Linked DNA regions of Homo sapiens: region 2 is linked to region 1. Evidence: promoter capture Hi-C in human tissues and cell types (Jung and others, 2019). All regions are on one chromosome and are shown on one strand. The core of a region is centred on a gene start or on the middle of the fragment in contact, and the rest is flanking DNA. Distances in the headings are between cores, read along the strand shown.

What was found. The method cuts DNA at HindIII sites, captures the fragments that hold promoters and counts their contacts. A contact is called where the count stands out against the background at its distance.
Region 2: a contact is called between a fragment that was not itself captured here and the fragment with the promoter of CCKBR in region 1, in 1 of the 25 tissues and cell types used here (liver).

The regions. Positions count from the first base shown.
Region 1 is chr11:6,258,184-6,262,194 of GRCh38, reverse strand. CCKBR (cholecystokinin B receptor) reads right to left here and starts at 2,357. Exons shown (of 5, transcript NM_176875.4): 1 at 2,116-2,357. The coding sequence starts at 2,266. The HindIII fragment of the contact is 2,957 bases long and covers 1,217-4,011 here.
Region 2 is chr11:6,220,321-6,224,331 of GRCh38, reverse strand. FHIP1B (FHF complex subunit HOOK interacting protein 1B) reads left to right here. Exons shown (of 12, transcript NM_001098794.2): 3 at 84-722; 4 at 1,094-1,252; 5 at 1,435-1,521; 6 at 1,723-1,890. Among named protein-coding and RNA genes, the nearest start is that of FHIP1B, 12 kb to the left of the region's middle. The HindIII fragment of the contact is 7,709 bases long and covers 1-4,011 here.

The sequences.
Region 1 (4,011 bases), core at 1,108-3,607:
CCCCTGGATTCAACAGCTTACTAGGTAACCTCACCTGGATGCCCCACTAACATTTAAACTCAATGGGTTCCAAACTGAATTTATAATTCCCTCTTCCAAACCTGTTTCTGCTGTTTTGTTATCTTTCTCATTGTATACAATTGCTATAGCACCAATATCCATTCAGTTGTCCAAGTTAGAAATCTGAATGTCATCCCTTGACCTCTTCCATCCTCTCTGCTTCTAATCTGTTGATTCCATTTCCAGAAGAGGCTCTCAAATCTATCCACCTCTCTCCATCTCCCTTGCCATTACCTTAGTCTCAGCTAGCATCATCTTTCACCCAGAACAGTGTAATATAGTAACCTTGTAAAGTATCCCCCTGCCTTCCATCTTATGTCTTCCAATCCGTTCTCCACATTATAGAACTAATCCTGGTAGTACTACCGAATCTTTTAGTAGTTCCTATTGCCCTCGGGAGAAAGTCCATGTTCCATGGTCAGGCCTAGCAGGCTCTCTGCAAACCCTCTAGGCTGGTCTCCAGCCTGTTCATTATTCCCTTCTTAAGATATATGTTCTAGTCACTCAAAACTATGTCACAGTGGATAAAAGTGCCATGAATTCAAACTTTGAGCTTCTTATACATCTTGTCCTTTTATTTGGGATGCTTTCTGCCTCTTCTGCCCGTTCACTTGGCTGGCTCTCCCATATGTATATGTGTGTGTGTGTGTGTGTGTGTGTGTGTGTGTGTGTATATATATTTTTTTTTTTTTTTTTTTTTGCCAACAGGAAGCTTAGAGCCAGCCTCCCTAATTTTTTTGACTTTGTAGCTCATTTCCTCAAGAGGCCAACTTTAATTCTCAAGGAGGCTGGGCTGGGCTAGAGGTGTTCCACTTGTGTTCCCACTATCTTTTCCCTGTCAAGGCTCTTCCACTTTGTGCTGCAATCCCCTGCTTTTCTGTCTCGCCCATTAAACTTTGAGCTCTGTGAAGTAGGAATTGTGTCGGTTTTGTTCAACTTACATTCCCACTGCCTAGCACAATCTCTGGTTCAATAAATATTGGCTGAATGACAGAATCCAAGTGTGAGTGTGTAACAACTCGGCTGAGAAAGCATAGATTATTTCGTGGGGTAAATAAATACTTGGATTACAATTTATTCCAACTTTCCCTTTTTGAGTTTAGAAAAATTTCCTTCTGCTTAACATTGCTCCTTCACCTAGAATCCCACTCCTTCCTTTTCTGCCTACTCAACTTCAAGACCCAGCTCTAAGGTTCTAGCCTCTGTGAAGTTCTTTTGGTGCCCACAGTTTAGACCCTTTCATGGGACTTCCATTGTGTCTGTGATTTTTCCATTTGCTTGGTTTCTCTCTGCACTTGGCTATGGGCCATGAGGGTCCAGACTGGGTCTAGTTTGCCCTGTGCCCCCAGCACCTAGCCTAGGGCTGGAGAGAGAGCTTGGAAGATAGCTGGAGACATTACTTGCAGACAAAGAGAGAGGGCACAGAGCCTCGAAAGCTCCAACTAGGGAGGCAGAGGGGTTTGAGAAGGAGTGAAATGGAGGCAGGCAGCTCTAAGGAGCATCCCCTAGTGTCCAGCCTAATTCAGATTTGAGGATCTTTTTTGGGATGGCTGGGGGCTGGGGTGTCAGATGTGATCACAACTTCAGCTTCGCATTCAAGCTTTCCAGAGTGCTCCCTCCCTCAACCAGCCCCCTTCTTTTCCCAGTCCTGCCTTCCTTTCTTCCTTCCCTTCTCTGTTGTGGCTCTGTGAACTGGATGTAAGAGGGAAAAGGAGATCTGCAGGGTTGGCAAGAGGAGGTCCTCGCCTTCTGACTGGTGTCTAGGAGGGGCTGCGTGTTGGGGAAGGGGCTGTGCTTTGGGGTGAGCAGGGGCTCTAGGTGTATTCAGGGGACCAGGATGTGAAGGAGTTCCGACCAGGTGGTGTGAAGCTGTGATGAAGTTGTAGGCTGTGGGGGTGAAGGTGTGAGGGGAGCTGTTTGGGGGCTGAGGGAGTACTATGAGAGGCACGGTGTGGACGTTTGAGAAGGTAGTGTGGAGCTCGTTGGGGGGACTCTATTAGTGTTCTGGGGTACAGTGAGAAATAGCTTGTGGGGGGGGCTGAGGGAGGCACCCACCTCGTGTCCCGGCTCCGCGAATGCGAGGGGGCTCGCAGCTGAGGTTGCCCACACTGCTGCTGTTGAGGAGAGGCGCCCCCGGGCGGCACAGGGAAGCCCCCGGCCCGGGTCCGGTTCCCTGCACGCTCCGGTTCAGCTTTAGCAGCTCCATGGCCCCCGCCGAGCCCGCCGCCTTACTCAGCTCGACCCGGCGGGCTCCCAACGCGGCTCCACCTGCTCACGCTGCGATTCCGGCTCAGGCTCCCGCCGCCCTCCTCTCCCTGCCCCCTGCCCCGCCTGGTCCCCGCCCCCAGCCCAGGCGCCTGCCCTCCACTCTCCCGCGGCTCGCCCCGCCTGGGTTCCCGTCCCTCCGCCAGCCTCTGTCCCGCCAGGTGACTGTGCACCCCCTCCCTGGCTCGGGAGTTCTGCCCCTCCCTGTGCGACTGTCCTCCAGGCTCGCCCCCTCCCTAGATGTGTCCCGTCTCCTCTTAGAGATTTCTCTCCTGCCCACCTCTCTTTATCACCCGCCCCCACCCCCGATTCCCAGGAATGAGAGAGAGAGAGAGAGAGAGAGAGAGAGAGAGAGAGAGAGAGAGAGATTGAAGACAAGAGTATTGGCAGCGTAGGGGGAGGTTTCGGGGAAGGGAGGGTAGGAGGGGTTGGGTAGAGACGGCTGCCACGGATCCAGCATCTTTCTCTGGTGTATCAGGGAACGTGGAGGTGGCGTTGGAGACCAGGTCTGCGTGCGTCACCTGCTGAGGCGCGGATGCTTTAGTCTGAGCCTAGAGCCGCATTTACCGTACTGTGTTGCAGTGGCCGCAGTGACCGTGACACTATTGCTACCGTAGTTCCCTGCAGCTCCTCGCTGCGGGCCTGGGGTAGCTCCTGCATCTGTCTCCGCACCCTCCATCTCCTGTCTGAGGCTTAACACTCAGGCTTGCACTTAAGGGTCCCAAGGAGCCCTCCACAGCTGGGCGGGAGTGGGGGTGGGGCCGGGGCCGAGATTTGGCTCCAGGGAAGCCTTGCCAGGGAAAAGGGCTCCCGGGAGGAAGCTTCTGACTTGAGTGTTGAGGGCAGTTGGGGGTGGTGGCAAGCACTGACAAGGATAAACCAGAGTAAGGTGAGGATGGGATATAATTCTAACGCCGGCCCAGCGCAGGCAAAAGAGAAGGAGAAGGTTGGCTTTCTCCACCGTCTCCAGGCAGCGCCCACGCCCACCCGACACGCTAACGCTCCCTGTTTGCTCTCAGTGCAGGCAGAGCTGCCTGTGTAGGGTGTCAGGTTCCCACGAGAGGGGGCTAGAAGGGGACTGGGTCACTGCGGTGCAGCGGGAACAGGGCTGAAGGGTGCAGGACTGAACTGGGTTCAGCTTCTCGGGGCAGGATTTGCCTCTTCTACTATTTCAGCCCTGCTCCCTATGCATTCTCCTATCCATTCCTTTTCTTCCCCAGATTCCTATCTCCAGATTCCTATCTCCAGATTCCTATCCATTCTTCAGATTCCGGATGAACTCCAATACGATGTGAAATTCTTCTGACCCCCAGCAGTAGCTGTAAGAGGTTGGGGGCGGGCATCAGTGGAAGAGCAAATTAGAGAATGGAGTCTGGCTTTATGGGGGATTCAGCAGGCCCTTATCCAATTAATCTTTTGGAGAGGACCTGGTTCAGCCAGCCCTGAGTTTATAGGGGCTGAAGCATTGAAAGAGAGTTGAAAGACAGTTTATGCCTGAGATGTCATCAACTGCTCCCCCTTTCCTTCCTCCTGGTACTGCCTGTCTTGCCCATCAGAGAGCCTGGACCAGAGGAGCTTGATTTGCTATTTGTTCCGCTCCAGCACAGGTGGGGCCTCAGATAACCTGCTCAAGTTTTCCCACATTGGATGACAGTACGATGAGGAGGGAAGGGAGCAAAGGATGTA
Region 2 (4,011 bases), core at 899-3,398, 38 kb after region 1:
CTCCCAGCCTTCTATATTCTCCTCATCCCATTTAGTAACCTTATCAATTTAGATTCCTTCCATCTTCTGTCCTTTTTCCCTAGGTGGTGCGAATCCTGGAGCGGCAAGGCCCTCGGGCAGCTCCTGGGGGTGCAGACGATCTCAGTGCTGTGCGCAACCACACTTACCAGATGTTGACACTGCTGGCAGAGGACCGTGCAGTTCCCTCGGCCCCCACAGGCCCTGGGCCCCTGCTGGAGTTTGCTCTGCACGAGGATCTGCTGACCCGTGTGTTGACATGGCAGCTGCAATGGGATGAGCTTGGGGATGGGGTCGAGGAACGGCGGGCTGAGCAACTGAAACTATTTGAAATGCTAGTGAGCGAAGCTCGCCAGCCACTGTTGCGGCATGGTCCAGTTCGTGAGGCTCTGCTCACCCTGCTGGATGCCTGTGGCCGCCCTGTGCCCAGTAGCCCAGCACTGGATGAAGGCTTGGTGCTACTTCTCAGCCAGCTGTGTGTTTGTGTGGCCCAGGAGCCTTCATTGCTCGAGTTCTTCCTGCAGCCACCTCCTGAGCCTGGAGCCGCTCCCCGTCTTCTTCTCTTTTCTCGCCTTGTCCCTTTTGTGCATCGAGAGGGCACCCTGGGCCAGCAGGCCCGTGATGCCCTACTTCTTCTCATGGCTTTGTCAGCTGGGAGCCCCACTGTGGGCCGCTACATCGCGGATCACTCTTACTTCTGCCCGGTTAGCACCCCCTGGCTTGGAGGGTAGGGTGTGGTGTGTAGATACTGAACAGCACCTTCCTATCCAGGAGATGGGGAGAGGCTATGTTCCAGGGCCCGTTCCCCTAGGAAACAGTTCCTGGATTTGAAAGCAGCCCCCTGGAGTTGTAGTGGGGATGAATCATGGGCTTAGATGGATAGGGCAGATACTAAGTCTCTTTGTAGGCCTGTGAATTCTAGGTGAGTTTCAGGCACATTGGGTAGGCAAATGCTTGCTTTGGTAATAGCTTATACCCCTATTCCCATCAAAACTCTGGATTACTAGCTCCCCTGTTCCAGTTTTTATATTTTATAAATGTATTTTATATATGAGCTTTTGGTAACTTCTCATAGGTGCTGGCCACAGGGCTCAGTGCCCTGTACTCATCACTGCCTCGAAAGATTGAGGTTCCAGGGGATGATTGGCACTGTCTGCGACGGGAAGACTGGCTGGGAGTGCCAGCCCTTGCACTCTTCATGAGTTCCCTGGAGTTCTGCAATGCAGTAATTCAGGTAGGACTGAAAGTCTGGCCCTTGGTCATTTTTGGGAGATTAGGTAGGAGGGGGTATATTCCCTGGAGTTCTGTCATTTTTCCATCTTGGAAGTAGGATGCCTCTCTGTAGTGTACTATTCTACTCCCTTCCAGGCAGTGGTCTCCTCATAACCCTCCCCCTTCTCTCTGGCACTCCTACAGGTGGCTCACCCCCTGGTGCAGAAGCAGTTGGTTGATTATATCCATAATGGGTTCCTGGTGCCTGTCATGGGTCCTGCCTTGCACAAGGTGAGAGTCATGGGTGGCAAGGCATATAAGGGGCTAAGCTGCAGTGGTAACCTCAGTGACAGGACTAACGTAGGAGGCGGTGGGTAGAGTACTCCTCCCTTTTGCCCTGTCTGCTCCTGATTTCTCTTAGAATCCAGGGAAAATGGCCCTGTATGTGCAGGGAAGCTGTGCATTTCCAGACTTTCCCTTCTTTTTGTGCAGACCTCTGTGGAGGAGATGATCGCCAGTACCGCCTATCTGGAACTTTTCCTACGGAGTATCTCAGAGCCTGCTTTGCTCCGTACCTTCCTGCGATTCCTGTTGTTGCACCGGCATGACACCCACACCATCCTCGACACCCTCGTTGCTCGTATTGGCAGTAACTCCCGGGTATGGCCCTTACCCCTGTCCTAGCTTACCTGGATGACCCATCTTCTTTCTCTGACCTTTGTTCTGGGAGGGTATTCCTGCCCTTCTTTTGCCTGTATCTCCAGCAGTCACCTCAAAATTAAGTGGCATTAACTTTCCAGCATTAAACTTTTAACCATTTTGGGTACAGATTTTAATCTACTCCCCTGCTTTTATGATAGATGAATCTAGAACACAGTCACCTTTTCTGGATGACTTTGGCTGTTCATCATGACTATAGGTTTTGCTACTGTGCAGTGTTCGTAATGTAGTATTGGCCTGAGTTCTCTTAAACTGTTTATCACTCTGTGGCCTGCTTTGGGTGACTTGAGAGCACTTTAGGTTGTGTGTCTGCTTTGGTAGGTGATCCAGGTGCTACTGATATGCTTGCCTTCTTTCTCCTTTGGATTTGCTGCTTTTGAACTATAGCTTGGAGCACTCATCCACCCACCTATCTACTTTCGGTCCTTCCTCCTAAACATTTTTACTGAATGTTCACTGTGTGCCATACTGTTTGCTGGTGCTGGGGATACAGTGATAAATAAGGTAGACATTGTTGCTGACTTCATGGAGCTTACTTTGTAGAGAAGACAGACAAGCAAACACATTAATAAGTTGTGGTCAGGGTTATGAAAAAACTAGAGTGCTTAGAAATAATAGGGTGGCCAAGGAAGACCTCTCTGAAGAGATGACATTGAACTGAGACATAGAGATTATAAAGGAGTTAACTTATTGATCAAGTAGAAGAACAGGAAAGCAAGGGGAACAGCATGCAAAGGACATCAAATGGGGGAAGAGCTTAACATGTTTGAGGAAATGAAAGACTAGAGGTGTAGTGAGCAAGGGGAAGAAGGGAATGAGATAAAAATAGAGGGGTAAAATTCAGATCATGCATGACCTGGAAGACCATGGCAAGAAGTTTGGATATTAACAAATAGAAATATATATAACATGGGAGTGGGTGGTTTCCAAGTTATAAAGACTTAAGCCCCTCTAGGAGAATAAAGCATTAATTTTGCCATGGACTTCATGGCATTTATTTTGCCTCTGGGACCATTTTTGCTTCCTTTTTTTATTATAAGTTAAAGTTTCCTGGATCCATGTGTTTAAAATAGAAGTTCTTTCATCACTAAGAGCTCTGGAAAACTTCTAGATAATGAGATACTAGATAGTAGAGTTCCAGGTCAGTTTCCTGGATAGCTGTGTTTTGTATAGGTGCAGTTTCTGAAGCTAAGTTAGGGTGTATAAGAAATATTCCAGACTGACTGATTAAACCAGTGTTTCTAAACCAAGTGTATACTTTAGAAACGTCTGTGAATCTTTGAAGATGACAACTAACAACTACAACAGATTCTGAGCTCTACCTCAGATTTCGTGAATCTTTGGGAGTAGGCTCAGGACATGTGTATTTTTAAAATTTTCCAAAAAGTAATCATGATAGATGCCTTGGGTTAAGATTTATTGGAACCAATAGGGAATAGGTATTAAAGCTTTAATTTTACAAAGATACCAAAAGTATTTTTTTTCCCTCATTATGCTGAAATTAGGCCATGATTGGCCTCATATTGTCCTGTTCATGTTTAGAGACAGTTGATTTTCTTTTTGAGGTTTTATCTGTTGTTTCTTCCTTTTGTCTTATCCTAACTTTGATTCTTACTCACTATCTTTCATTTTTTTAGTAGTTGTTTCTATTAGTCTCCCATTTGGTCCCCTGGTCTTAGGAGCCTTACATGTTCTTGGGATGTTTCTTCTTGGTTCCTGGTTCTTGGAGGAACAGATCTCTTCTAATTTCAGGATGCCCGTGTTAAACATGTAGATGCTTTCCTTTCCACTGTGGTCCTTTCAAGCTTGATTCTTTGGCTTGACTTTGTAACGTATATAGCCTGCCTTGTGTGCCTTGAAGTGACTAATTTTGGCTAACCAGCCTGTGTTAATTCCGTATTGCTGTCATAACAGATTATCAAACCTAATGCTTAAAACAGATTTATTGTCTTACAGTTTTGTAGGTCATATGTATGACCTGGATCTCGCCAGGCTAAAATCAAAATTTTGGGGGGTGGGGTCTGTGTTCCTTTCAGGAGGCCGTAGGACAGGATCCATTTC